Linked DNA regions of Homo sapiens: regions 2 and 3 are each linked to region 1. The links are contacts of gene promoters, found by promoter capture Hi-C in blood cells and fetal thymus (Javierre and others, 2016). All regions are on one chromosome and are shown on one strand. Each heading gives the region's core, a stretch centred on a gene start or on the middle of the fragment in contact. The rest is flanking DNA. Distances are from core to core; before and after follow the strand shown. Region 1 holds the start of MIOX (myo-inositol oxygenase). Region 2 overlaps MOV10L1 (Mov10 like RNA helicase 1). Region 3 overlaps MOV10L1 (Mov10 like RNA helicase 1).

What was found. The method cuts DNA at HindIII sites, captures the fragments that hold promoters and counts their contacts. A CHiCAGO score of 5 or more calls a contact.
Region 2: a fragment that was not itself captured here is called in contact with the fragment with the promoter of MIOX in region 1 in 2 of 17 cell types (fetal thymus and naive CD4 T cells); the score reaches 5.3 in fetal thymus.
Region 3: a fragment that was not itself captured here is called in contact with the fragment with the promoter of MIOX in region 1 in 5 of 17 cell types (fetal thymus, M0 macrophages, M1 macrophages and 2 more); the score reaches 7.6 in fetal thymus.

The regions. Positions count from the first base shown.
Region 1 is chr22:50,485,410-50,489,997 of GRCh38, reverse strand. It overlaps MIOX (myo-inositol oxygenase), which reads right to left and starts at 3,139. Exons shown (of 10, transcript NM_017584.6): 1 at 3,086-3,139; 2 at 2,533-2,613; 3 at 2,256-2,336; 4 at 1,950-2,112; 5 at 1,656-1,723; 6 at 849-958; 7 at 703-770; 8 at 552-601; 9 at 354-466; 10 at 1-250. The coding sequence starts at 3,100. The coding sequence ends at 142. It overlaps ADM2 (adrenomedullin 2), which reads right to left. Exons shown (of 3, transcript NM_001253845.2): 3 at 3,561-4,588. The HindIII fragment of the contact is 4,673 bases long and covers 1-3,580 here.
Region 2 is chr22:50,160,978-50,165,189 of GRCh38, reverse strand. It overlaps MOV10L1 (Mov10 like RNA helicase 1), which reads right to left. Exons shown (of 27, transcript NM_018995.3): 26 at 4,135-4,212; 27 at 3,503-3,822. The coding sequence ends at 3,741. Among named protein-coding and RNA genes, the nearest start is that of PANX2, 7.6 kb to the left of the region's middle. The HindIII fragment of the contact is 4,494 bases long and covers 1-4,212 here.
Region 3 is chr22:50,143,816-50,148,637 of GRCh38, reverse strand. It overlaps MOV10L1 (Mov10 like RNA helicase 1), which reads right to left. Exons shown (of 27, transcript NM_018995.3): 18 at 4,395-4,541; 19 at 2,828-2,949. Among named protein-coding and RNA genes, the nearest start is that of PANX2, 25 kb to the left of the region's middle. The HindIII fragment of the contact is 7,030 bases long and covers 1-4,822 here.

The DNA.
Region 1 (4,588 bases), core at 1,890-4,389:
TGAGGGGTGGCGACCCTAAGGGGGTGAGTGGGGTCCCCCACCGAGGTGAACCCTGATGGCGGCTGTTTGCCCAGGGCCAGGCCTCTCCAGGCAGGCGGAGGGCCAGGCCTAGGTCCAGCAGCAGCTTGGGTGGCAGGAGGGTCACCAGCTCAGGATGCCAGGGCAGTACTTGTCAATGAGCCCCTGGTAGTAGGGCCGCAGCTTGTCCACGTCCGGCAGGTCCGGGCACTTGGTGTAGAGGTCGAACTTGCTGCAGCAGGGAGGGGCGGTGAGCCCCGTGAAGAACCCCCAGGCCCCCCACCCAACCCCCTCTTTCACTCCCACAACACCCCTCGGCGGGTAGCGGGGCGTACTTGAACTCCCGCACCCAGGGCAGCATGGCCAGGTCCTGCTGGCTGCACAGCTGCTGGTAGTCGCGGCCCGTGTGCCAGGGGTAGAAGGAGTGGAACCGGATCATGTAGAAAGCCTGCGGGCAAGGCCACCCAGCGGCTCACTTGGGGCTGCAGGACCGGGCCTGGTGGACGGGCTGCGTTGCCCCTCCCCCCACCTACCTCAGGGGGCAGTGAGAACTTGTTAAACTTCATCACCTGGTACATGTACTCTGTGGGGAGAGGGTGTCACCAGCAGGCACTGCCTCTGCCCCACCGCCCCCCACCGTCCCCCACCGCCCCCCACCGCCCCACTGCCCGCCTCTGGCCTCACCATCATGGCCCCAGGACATGAGGACCCTGTCGAGCCCACAGTGGGGCTGATACATCCCGAGCTCTGTGCTGCAGTGAGATACCAGGGTGAGGAGGGCTCAGCAGCCGCCCAGGGAAGGGGGCCCAGCCCTCAGCAGCAGGGAGCACCTGTATCGAGGATCCTGGAGGTCAGGGTTGTCCTGGAAGGTGGAGTCGCAGAAAACCACGGAGGCCTGCGGACGGCATCCGACGGGGAAGGTGTCGCCGACGACAGCCCACTGCAGAGGGACAGGAGGGACGGGAGGCCATGGGGGGAGTGGGGGAAGGTGTCGCCGATGACCACCCACTGCAGAAGGACAGGAGGGACGGGCGGCCATGGGGGGAGTGGGGGAAGGTGTCACCGATGACTGCCCACTGCAGAGGGACAGGAGGGACGGGCGGCCATGGGGGGAGTGGGGGAAGATGTTGCCGATGACTGCCCACTGCAGAGGGACAGGAGGGATGGGAGGGACGGGAGGGACAGGAGGGACGGGAGGGATGGGAGGGACAGGAGGGACAGGAGGGACAGGCAGCCATGGGGGGCCGTGGGGGAAGTGGGGGAAGGTGTCGCCGACGACCGCCCACTGCAGAGTGACAGGAGGGACAGGCGGCCATGGGGGGCCGTGGGGGGAGTGGTGCGGGGAGGCCGTGGGGGGTGCACTGGCCTGTCCCCCAGGTAGTATCCCAGGCCAAGCACCGAGGCCACCAGAGGGACAGGCAGCCGTGGGGGGGGCCGTGGGGGGTGCACTGGCCTGTCCCCCAGGTAGTATCCCAGGCCAAGCACCGAGGCCACCAGAGGGACAGGCAGCCGTCGGGGGGCCGTGGGGGGTGCACTGGCCTGTCCCCCAGGTAGTATCCCAGGCCAAGCACCAAGGCCACTCCACCCCCACCTTGCCTCAACATGCAGCCTCCTCACCCTCCACTTCCAACTCTTACCTGGGGCTCCCCGAACAGGGCCAGGACCTTCCCCAGGTCGTGCAGGAGCCCGACGAGGTGGAACCAGTCTGGGAGGGGGATGGACAGGGCAGGTTGGGGACTGCAGGGGCCAAGGCAGAGGATGAGCAGGTTTGCGGGGCTGAGAGCCAGGAAGGGTCCAGGGCCTGCTCCCCAACCCAGGCAGGGCTGCTGGAGGAGGCCTGGGCCCACTACTGTCCCCTCCCACCCTACAGGCTGCTGCATTCTGCCCCTTGGAGGCAGCACCTGCCCCCCTGCAGCACAGCCAGGGCTCACCCTTGTCTGGGTGGGCCTTCCGGATGCCCTCCGCTGTCTGGAAGGCATGGAAGGAGTTGGGGAAATCTACGTCCGGGTCCGACTCATCCACCAGCCCATCCAGCAGGTCCACGGCCTCCATGACTGTCATTTTCTTGTAGGAGAAGCCCCCAAACTGGGCATGCTGGCGGGGAAGGAGAAGGCAGTGTGGCCCAGGGTCAGCAGGCCCACCACACAGGCCTCTCCATCCCCTCGGCGCCTGGTGGGCTCATGGGGCTGAGGGCAAGGGTCCCTCCGCGTTTGCACGGGGCGGCAGGAAACGCCTACCTTGCTCCTGACGAAGTCCACTGTCTGGTGCGTGTGCATGAGCTTGTAGGTGGTGAAGACACGGTCCAGGAGGGGACCTGACTGCAGGCCGGAGGGTCAGTGGCGCCACCCCCACCCTGCACACGAGGCCCCATGCCTCCCCTCTCCCAGGCAGCCCCACAGGGTGTGATGGGGGTGGGAGTTCCCACAGGGCACCCCCTGGAACTGTGTGAAGGGCAAGTGCTGCTCCCCAGGGTGTGGATGGGGGAGAAGGGGGGCAGGACGGCAAGGTACTCACCGTGTAGTTCCGGAAGCTGGCCTTGTCTTTGGCCACCTCTGGGTCCACATCAGGTCGGTAGACCAGGGAAGGGTCTGGGCCCTGGGTAGGTGGAGGATTGAACCTATTTCACCATCATGTCAGCTCCACGAGGAAGCACAGACATTCCCAGGGTGGCTGCAGACTCCAAGCCTGCCTCTGCTCGAGGGCTGGTGGGTGACACGCGAGGACACAGCCTCTCCCACGCCATCATCCCAGCCCCTGCCCTGGCCTCAGCGAGTCCCAGGAGCTCTCACTCCCAGGTCCTCATCTGCAAAGCGAAAGTCAGCAGACGTCTGCTTCCGGGGTACAGGGGACACCACGCCTGAGCGGCACCCATGGCCACCCTTGAGGGGTGGAAGTGGCTTTGGGAGGAGACTGAGTCCACAGGGAGCCTGGGGGTCGGCAGCCGCTGGCTCTTGCCCAGCTGGACGGAGGAGGAGGGCTGGCCAGTGCCAGCTAGAAGAGGGCGGGAGTGGCTGGCCACCAGGAGAGCAGTCAGCAGAGCCTCTCTGCATGGGGTCTGGGTACTCACCACCGTCACCTTCATCCTGAGAGGGAGCGGCGCTCAGGTGGCAAAGCACAGGCTGGCGAGTGTGTCCTCAGCCAGGCTCCTATATACACCCCAGGTTACATAAGTGTCCGCAGTAATAAATGACCATCCACCCTCCTCCCGGCCTCAGGGAGTTAATGTGTCAGCACAGCAGCAGCCCCCAGCAGTCCCACATCCTCTGGCCCTGACTCAGCCTCACACTCCTGTCCCGAGCCGCTGACCTGCCTAGGGTTATCTGTGGGCCCAGCCTCCCACTTGGGCCCTGGCCTTAGACCCCTCTGTGGGGTCCCACAAGTAGGGGCAGACCCAAGACCCCACCCTCAAGCACACGCCCCCTCTGCACCACCCCTTCCCCGGCTGCCCCACTGGATCTCAGGAGGTGAAAACTTGTCCCCAGGCCCCCCGTGATTCTGGGTGGGGCAGGAGCTTGTTAAGAAAAGATGATTCTGAGGACTTGTTAAAATGGTGAGAAAAGCTTTATTCAAGAGAGTGGTGAGAGGAGCTCACCTCCGAGTTCAACAACCACAGCTGGAGATTGATGGCGTTGGAGGGGTCAGCGGATGGGAAGTTGTTAGGGCGGCCTTCGAGGGTAGGGGGATTCTCACTGGAGTGGCTCAATGAGGATCTTGCAGGAGGCCGGCAGGGTGATGAGATCAAGGGTGGGAGATGAGGAATGGGATCAGATATCGAGGGTGGGTAATTCTCCATAAACTGATTTAGAGGATTCTTGCTAACACCGGGGTCGGCGGGCCCAGCGAGGATGGGGATGGGGTCAGGCCTCGTCGAGGAAAGGACTCAGGGGCACCTGCCTAGAGTTCGGCCACAGAGTGTGTCAGGCTCTGGGAGAGGGGCCTCACGGAGAGTTGGAGCAGGCACGGAACCGCCAACACCCAGGCCGCCAACGCAACTTCCCATGCATGGGCCCTGCAGGCATGGAGGACACCGTGAGAACAAAGTGCCCGCGGCAGAGCTGGCGTCTTGGAGCGTGGCCAGGGAAGTCTGGGAACAGCAGTCGGCTGGGGCAGGAGAGAGGGCAGTGGGGTGCTGGGGCCATACCTAGGGCTGTGAAGATCAGAGTTCTGGGCTTCAGGGGTCAGGCAAGAGGGCTGTGGGCAGCTGACCTGACTCAACAAGATCCTGGCACAGCTGAGCTGAGAAGCAACTGTGAGGAGACCCCAGCGCCCCCCATTTAAACGGCACCTGCCCCACACTCTCCTTCCTTGTCTGACTTCCTGTGGCACTCAGCACTCCCTGCCACTCCACCACCCACTTATTCTACCTTCTACGTTTGTCTCCTTCTATCTCCCCCTAGAATGTCAGCCCCTGGGGGTCAAGGCTGTATCCTCACGTGTCCCAACACGGGTAGGTCACGTGCTCAGCATGCACTGGCCAGAGGGATGCAGACAGGTGCCTGGGAGGAGGCTACGGCCATCGCCCCGAAAGCAGGTGGTGCCTGGGTCAGGAGAAGGTGTCTGGATAGGTTCA
Region 2 (4,212 bases), core at 911-3,410, 320 kb after region 1:
GATGACATTAACTATTTGCAAATAAGCCCCATACGGATAATAATGCATTTCTGGCCAGGTGTGGTGGCTCACGCCTATAATCCCAGCACTTTGGGAGGCTGAGGTGGGCAGATCACTTGAGGTCAGGAGTTCAAGACCAGCCTGGCCAACATGATGAAACCACGTCTCGACTAAAAATACAAAAATTAGCCAGGCATGGTGGCATATGCCTGTAATCCCAGCTACTCAGGAGGCTGAGGCAGGGGAATCGCTTGAATCCAGGAGGCGGAGGTTGCAGTGAGCCAAGATTGCACCACTGCCCTCCAGCCTGGGCGACAGAATGAAACTCCATCTCAAAAAAAAAAAAGCATTTCTAGCTCAATTTTATTTTTGTTTATTATGAAAATTGGAAATGTATGCGTATCATTTTGATTGGGTATTTATAATAATCGTAAGAATAACAATCGGCCAGATTGTTCCCATGTTAAGCCTCAGTGCTTGTATTTTGTCAGGGTGCGCTGAGACTGGTGTTTGGTAGGGACAGGCCAGACCATGCCACAGTAATAGACGTCAACAACAGCCCAGGTTGTTTGGCCCCACACACTGCTCACAGGGAGACTGGGGGCTCTGTCCCGCCATCCTCAGCCTGACACGTGGCGGCCCTCGCCCCCGGTGTCCGGTGGGGAGTGGGGGGTGAGCTGCCCTCTGCCTTCAGAGCCTTCGCATCAGCGATGTCACTGGCTTTACACACCTGTGGTGGTGAGGGAGGTGGGGGTGAAATCCCGTTCTGTGCCCAGGAGAGGAACAGAAAATATTTGTGATGCCCACACCTTTCAAACCTAACACATTTTGCATTAGGATACAAATATGGGGGGGAGTGGAATAGAAATATGAGTTCAAGGAAAAGAAGAAATAAACTTTCTAGCTGTGAAAGAACAGCTTGCTGGTGTCCTCTAAGTGGATGATGGTATCAAACTGTAATGGCATTTTTTGTTGCACTGGATACACTGAAAAGGAAAATGGCAAGATTTGGGCCGGGCGTGGTGGCTCATGCCTGTAACCCCAGCACTTTGGGAGGCCGAGGCAGGTGGATCACCAGGTCAGGAGATGGAGACCATCCTGGCTAACACGGTGAAACCCCGTCTCTACTAAAAATACAAAAAATTAGCCGGGCGTTGTGGCAGGCGCCTGTAGTCCCAGCTACTCGGGAGGCTGAGGCAGGAGAATGGTGTGAACCCGGGAGGTGGAGCTTGCAGTGAGCCGAGATCGCACCACTGCACTCCAGCCTGGGCGACAGAGCAAGACTCTGTCTCAAAAAAAAAAAAAATAAATAAAAAAAAAAATAAAATAAAATAAAAATAAATGAAATGGCAAGATTTATAATAAGCTGTGACTTACATCATAAGCACGTTTAAAATGTGAAGAAGAAAAATCTTAGATAACCAAAAAAACGAGGGAAGAGATGCACTCCCTTAAGGTTTCATTTAGGGGACTCCAAGCACCAAAGTTTAAGACCTCTGTGTAGCAGCCTGGCCAACATAGCAAGACCGTCTCTACAAATAATAATAAACAAATTAGCCAGCTGTGGTGGCACACGCCTGTGATCTCAACTACTTGGGAGGTTGAGGTGGGTGGAACACTTGAGCCCAGGAAATCGAGACCAACCTGGGCAACATGGCGAAACCCTGTCTCTACAGAAAATTAGCCAGGTGTGATGGCGTACACCTGTAGTGTCAGCTATTTGGGAGGCTGAGGTGGGAGGATCACCTGAGGCTGGGAGGTTGAGGACGCAGTGAGCCATGATTGTGCCACTGCACTCCAGCCTGGGCAACAGAGCAAGACCCTGTCTTAAAAAAAGCCCCAAATCCTGTGCAGACGACACCTGCCTGCAGGCCCCACTTGCCTTTGCTTCCCTTGCCTTGCTTTGCAGGGATTCATGGCTGGCTGAGCAGTGCTGCCTTCCCTGTAGCCTGGGCCCCTCCAGGGCAGCCTCCTCACTGACCTCCTTCTCTTCCCCTCCCTCCCTGTCACCTGACAGCCTCCCTGCCACTCTTGCACCAGCAAACAGGTGCCCCGAGTCCTTTATAGAATGACCCCGCCTGGTCTCCTGCCACCCTGGGCACACGCCAGATCATTGCTGAGGTGTCCCCCAGCTGAGGACACCTGCCCAGCCTCAACACTGGCTCCCCACGTCTCTGCCCAAGAGCACTCCCTCAAGTGTGGACCCCACACCTGCTTCTTGCGTCTCTCCCACCTGCCAGGACATCCAGGTCACTGAGCCCAGAGAGGTGGCCTCTCAGTGTCAGGGCTGACCCCAATGATCCCCTCACCTGGGTCAGAAAAGTCCCCAGCCTCCGTGGGGGGCATCCCTTCGATTTGGGGTTGACAGGATGGAGAGGTCCTTGCCCTAGGACTTCTGCTCTGCAGAGAGAGTCCAGCAAACGCTGGCTGCAGGAGCACTGGGCACAGCGGCCTCCACGCATGGGGGCTCTGCCTGGGCCTCCACGCACCCCTTAGCACAGCAATGACAGCTCTGCCTGGAGAAACCCTTCAGTTCCTAAACACAACTCATGCAGAAGCCACAGCAGGTGATGCCGCATGCAGTCCTGGGCCCTGACATGACGCCGCCTGTCTGGAAAGTGCTTCCTCCTACATCAAGTACTCCCTGGAGTTGTGACCACAGATCTTAGCATCACCCACAAGTTTAGTAAACAGACATGATCCCTGGTGTCTTGAGACCTTCAGGAGACAGTGGTTTCTGCTTGCCAAGCAGACGCTACCTCTAAGTGGAGACACTGAGCATTTGTTTCCTGGGAGCAAGTCGTGGGGGAGGGGGTGGGGGAGGGTGCAGGGCAAGGCTCCCAAACTTTGAGGTGGGCCAAGCCTGCACCCTTCTAGTCGGCTGCTGGTCTGTGTCTCGCTGTGGGGATGGGGGCATAGGCCAGGTAAGACCCCCCGTAAAGCGGTGTTGGCCTCCTCTGGGGCCCTGGGTGTATGCAGGCGGCATCTCCGAGCCTGGGGGTCCTGTGTTCCAGCCGGGCTGCTGTACTGAGACCCTGCACCAGGCTGAGGACAGTGCGGGGCTCACCCCAAGTGTTCTTCCTGCCACTGCTCTGCTCCTCCTGGCCTGAGGTGCGTTGCCCATCTCCACGTGTTTTATTTCTGGCCCAGAGATGTGTTCTAAGGACCCCTAAACTCAGTACCCCTAGGGTGCAGGCCTGCACCCAGGAACCCGCCCAGCTGCAAACTCCCAGAAGCACTGGGCCTAGGGCAGGCCTGAGTGCCACCCTCACAACCCTGGCCCCATGTAGAGCCTCAGGCCCTGTGGGCTCTGCATGCCTGGTCCATGGCCCTGGCGCTCTGCTGAGTGGAGCTGGCAGCCTTGCCTGGAGCCTGACACACGGCTAGTTCAGGTGAAGTGGACAGCAAGCCATCTCCAAAAACTGCGCCAGCAGGGCTGAGAGGCCACATGAAACCCTGGTCACCACTGACACGGGCACACATCTCGAGGTGGAAAGGCTTCTGGGGGTCACTCGAGGGTTTATTTCAGGGTAGGCGGCAGTGACTGCCCTGTGGCAGGAACAGGCTGGCATATGCCAAAGTCAGGGCAGCAGCAGCTGCGTCCAACCTGGCAGCCCCACACCCACACACGACCCTGCCTGGCTGCGAGACAAGGGCAGGCCACAGGAGCCACGGAGCAGACTGTAACGGCAACGTGGCCAGGCTGAGCACATGGCCTCCCTGCTGTCAGCCACTGCAGATCAGCTGGGCTCCTGATGCTTCTCTGGTCCTGTGGATTCTGGCACCACTGGGTAGGAGGGGTCTGCCACCCCCTCGCCACAGCTGTAGACAGAGGAGAAGCGGATGGCCAGTGAGCCAGGCTCCCACAGCGGGCTGGGAGCTGCACTCTTTTCCCAATGTGGGTTTTACAAGGGGACTTAGTTTACCCTGTTAGCCTATGTGGGAAAGGTGACATGACCCCAAATGTCCAGGAAACAGTGGCTGCTGCAGCCCAGGATGAGGTGAGGACGGTGGCCGGCAGAGGGCTAAGGCTGCAGGTGGGTAAGTGGATGGGGGTGAGGGGAGCAGGGGAGGGCAGGCTAGAGCACGTTCTAGAGCCAGCCTGTCTTTGAGGAAGACAGCAGAAGCGCTCACTTTTGCAGAGACTGCAGTGCAGGAGGTAAATCGCATCCCATGTAAACACCGTTTGTAATACTGTATTCCAGCAAAGCA
Region 3 (4,822 bases), core at 480-2,979, 340 kb after region 1:
ATGGCTCCCCACAATTCTGGCCCCTGCTGCAAACTCAGTGAGGTTCCCAGCTACAGAGCAGCCCTCCTGGCGGGTACCTGTCCGGCTCTTCCTTCTCCGTGTGACAAGGGAGGTAAGGGAGGTGCAGGAGCAGAGAGTCCACAGCGTTGCTGATGGACGGGGTGGGGATTTTGCGGGAAGGAGTCGTCAGGAGAAGCTGCGGAACTCTTGCATGGGAAGGCTGTGGGACTGAGCGGAGAGCAGGAGCTCGCTCGGCACATGATCTGTTTCTAGAGTGCAGAGGGGCCACCCCACCTGGGGCCATGAGCTGAGGAACAGGTGCCCCGGCTTCCCTGGCTCGCCCACCCCAGCAGCTTCTGCTCTGTGGTCAGGAGGCCTCAGTGGGGAAATGCTCTTGGGGCAGAAACATGTCCTGATGCCTGAGGAAGCAGGTATGGGGCAGAGAGAGTGTCCGGAGCCACGCCAACACTCAACAGGACGCACCTTGGGCCCGCACCGTCCTCACTGCCGAGCCCACGTTTACCCTTCTCACTGCTGATTCCAGGATCTCCCCTCTCCAACCCTAGATGCTGGGCAAATCCATCACCTCTGAGCCTCAGGTGTCCCACTGTGGGGTGAGACCCTGTGGTCAGACCTGTGCGGGGGCGGGCTCCTGCTTACAGCAGTGCTGGGCCCAACATGTCCTGCATCCACTCACGGTCAGCTGACACCTTTCACTTCAGGTATCAATGTGTAACTCTCAAGACACGGATTTCACAAGTGACACCGTGAACCCCTCCCAGTGAAAGATGTGGAAATCAGCAAACTGCCATTTCCCCATCTCATGTCCCTATTTCTGTTGAAAAAAATTAACATTATGTATCTTTCCTAGAATGTAAGTATTTAGGTTTCAATTCTGTATTAATTGCAGTTATTTAATGTCACTTTTGCCAGATGACATTGCTACTTCTTTGCCCTTTGAAGTGCCCCTCCCCACTCCAGCCGCCCCCAGTGGCCAACTAACGCTGTGGGGCCTCTGCAGCTGGGCTGCAGCACCCTCCCTGCTTCTGCACAGAGCGCCTCTGAGAGAGCGGCCTGCAGCACCCTCCCTGCTTCTGCACAGAGCGCCTCTGAGAGAGCGGCCTGCAGCACCCTCCCTGCTTCTGCACAGAGCGCCTCTGAGAGAGCGGCCTGCAGCACCCTCCCTGCTTCTGCACAGAGCGCCTCTGAGAGAGCGGCCTGCAGCACCCTCCCTGCTTCTGCACAGAGCGCCTCTGAGAGAGCGGCCTGCAGCACCCTCCCTGCTTCTGCACAGAGCGCCTCTGAGAGAGCGGCCTGCAGCACCCTCCCTGCTTCTGCACAGAGCGCCTCTGAGAGAGCGGCCTGCAGCACCCTCCCTGCTTCTGCACAGAGCGCCTCTGAGAGAGCGGCCTGCAGCACCCTCCCTGCTTCTGCACAGAGTGCCTCTGAGAGAGCGGCCTGCCCTGGCCGGCCACCTCCTCCCACTACCTGAACATCAGCTCCAGGGTGCAGGGTCCATGCAGTGCCCGCTCTGCCCCCAAAGAGCCCTCTGCACCCCAGTGAGGACTGGCTCTTCGGCTCTTGACCTTTGACTCATCAACACACATTAACAAAAAAAATCCCTGTCTTGTTCAGATCCGTGCTGTCCAATCCGGTAGCCACACACGGCTCTCGGGCACCGCACAGTGGCTAGTCTGAAACCTGACATGCTCTAAGTGTAAAATACATGGTGGATTTTGAAGACTTGAACCAAAAAAAATGTAAAGTGTCTCATCAATCACGTTCTACTAATCTCATGATGAAAGGACATCATGTATGTGAGAGAGTTAAACGCGCCGATGAAACCATCCGTGACACGCTGTGATAGGCGTGGCTGGCTGTGCCTTTGCTCCATGTGGAGCTGACGGACCACCTCCTGTGGTCACCCTCACGACCACCGTGACGCTGGACACTGTCCAGGGTGACCTGTCTCCAGGCTGTCAGGGAGGGTCACGACCACTGTGACGCTGGACACTGTTCAGAGCGACCTGTCTCCAGGCCGTCAGGGAGGGTGGGGCTTCCCTCAGAGGCCCTGGCTTCTCCCTCTCTCACCCTCAGCCTGTGCCCCCGACACTGTCTGGCTCTATGCACTGAGAGGGAGCTGCCTGCTGCCTCCCCGACCCCACCCCCCTGCACTGGGGTCTGAGAGTGCCTTGGTCCTCACTCAGCCTCCCTGGGCTCGAAGCTCTTCCTCCCAGCCCCCAGGGGAGGTCCTCCTATGACAGCCGGCACCCCACAATCCATCTCCTCCGCCTGTCTCCCCTGAAGAGCCCCCAGCGCCAGGGACACAAATGGCCCCCAGGGTCTGACCTTACAGAGCCCAGCCGTTTCCTAGGCAGCCTGCCTCCCCACGCCCACTCCAAGAGACTCACTCTCCTGCTCAGAAGCCCTTCACTGGCTTCCCGGCTCACCAGAGGTCGTCCAAAGGCCCCTCCACAGCCCGCCAGGCCTCCCCCTCACCACCCCTTTCAGGCCGTTCCTGCTCACGAGGCTCTGGCTCTACAGTCTCCTTTGGGGAGACCTCAGTGCTCCCCCACCGCGGGGCCTCTGCATGGGCCAGTCCATCTGCCTGCCCATCCCACTGCTGGCTCCTTCGAGTCCTTGGGGTCTCGGCTTCCCCAGCTCCATTCAGGCACGGCCCTCCCCAACCAGCCTTTCTCGCCCACAGCCCTGCCTCCCTCCCTGAGCACTGAGTCTCTGGGTCATCCGCCCCTCAGACAGAAGCTAGGAGAGGACTCCGACCTCTGCCCTGGGAGGCCCCATGCCGCGCTCCATGCCCGGGGCTCACCTCACTCCTATTTGGTAAAACAGCCCTGAGCTGCTGCATGTGGTGATGATTATCCGGAAGCGTGAGGCTTTCCAGATGTCTTCTCCGTCTCTGCAATACGGTTTGACGGCGTCAATAACTATCTGGGGGCAAGGAGGCGTAGAGTTAGTTTACTCCTCCAATTATTAAGCAGAATTCCAAAAGGGAACCTTGCCCTGGTACCACTTCTTAGTTACGTCTAAGTCATGATTTAAGGTTTTTTTCTCAAAATATCTCATACTTCCTTATCAATTCAGTCCATGTTTTATCAACTCTAGAGCCACAAATATAACACATAATCCTGCAGACCCTTCCCCAAAACAACTTTGTACATTTTCTATTCAGTTTGTTTGTTTGTTTATTTAGAGAGGGAGTCTTGCTCTTGCTCTGTCGCCCAGGCTGGAGTGCAATGGTGCAATCTCGGCTCACTGCAACCTCTGCCTCCCAGGTTCAAGTGATTCTCCTGCTTCGGCCTCCGGAGTAGCTGGGATTACAGGCGCATGCCACCACGCCCAGCTATTTTCAATGTCTTTTTTAAACGCAATATTTCAGGCTGGGCACAGTGGCTAAAGCCTGTAATCTCAACACTTTGGGAGGCAGAGGCGGGTGGATCACTTGAGATCAGGAGTTCGTGACCAGCCTGACCAACATGGTGAAACCCTGTCTCTACTAAAAATACAAAATTAGCTGGATGTGGTGGCACACACCTGTAATCCTAGGTACTTAGGAGGCTGAGGCAGGAGAATTGCTTGAACCCGGGAGGCGGAGGTTGCAGTTAGCCAAGATCACACCACTGCACTCCAGCCTGGGCAACAAGAGCAAAAACTCTGTCTCAAACAAACAAAAAAATAAAAGCAATACTTCGCTCTATAACCAAACCAGCAACTTAAAGGAATACTTAAAACCAAACCAGGCCGGGCACGGTGGCTCACGCCTGTAATCCCAGCACTTTGGGAGGCCGAGGCGGGCAGATCATGAGGTCAGGAGATCGAGACCATCCTGGCTAACACGGTGAAACTCCGTCTCTACTAAAAATACAAAAAATTAGCCGGGCGCAGTGGCGGGTGCCTGTAGTCCCAGCTACTTGGGAGGCTGAGGCCAGAGAATGGTGTGAACCTGGGAGGCGGAGCTTGCAGTGAGCCGAGATCATGCCACTGCACTTCAGCCTGGGCGACACAGCGAGACTCCGTCTCAAAAAAAAAAAACAAAACAAAACAAAAAACACCAAACCAACAAAACAAAACTACTTAAAAAGTAACAAGACGTTTGGGGATTAAATAAAAGAGGAATGTGATAATTTTACAATGCTACGAATGCCCACAATAGGTGTGATAACTCACACAGAGTGAGAATGTGATGAAATAGTCAGCAATCAAGCTCCACCATTTAGCGGTGAGGGAGGGCCCATGGCAGAGCCATTTCTCAAACACAGCTTTCTGTGGCGCCTCTGTGCCCACCCTCCTACCCCTGCCCTCCCCTGTCCACTTGGCATTTCCTATGTTCCAGGGAGGGGTTCTGGTGCCCCCCACTGCTTGCACCAAGGGCTCACCTCCTCGAACCTGCAGGTGGCGTTCACCCGGACCATGGTGGCCGGCTGTAGCACCTTGCTCTCGTGCAGCCGCAGACACACGAGGTCAGCAGCACTGTTGGAGGGCGCACAGACTAAAATCCGACTGTCCGGCAAGGCAAAGTGTACCTTCATCAAAGACACACAAGAGACCAAGGCTCAACATCCACACCGCAAGGTGGAAACCAGGAGTCTAACCTCAACACACACATTCGGGTGCAGGGACTCAGCTGCATGGGCTCAGATGCCAGCCCCCAACACACTGAGACCTGGGCCACGACTCTGCCTCATCACACTGCTGCCAAAGCATGGGTTAGGTGGGAAGGTTCTCCGCACTCTCTAAGATTCTAAACCACCTTTCAGGGCAGAAACAGAGTCAGATTCATCTGCACACATCTGGCGTGTGGTAC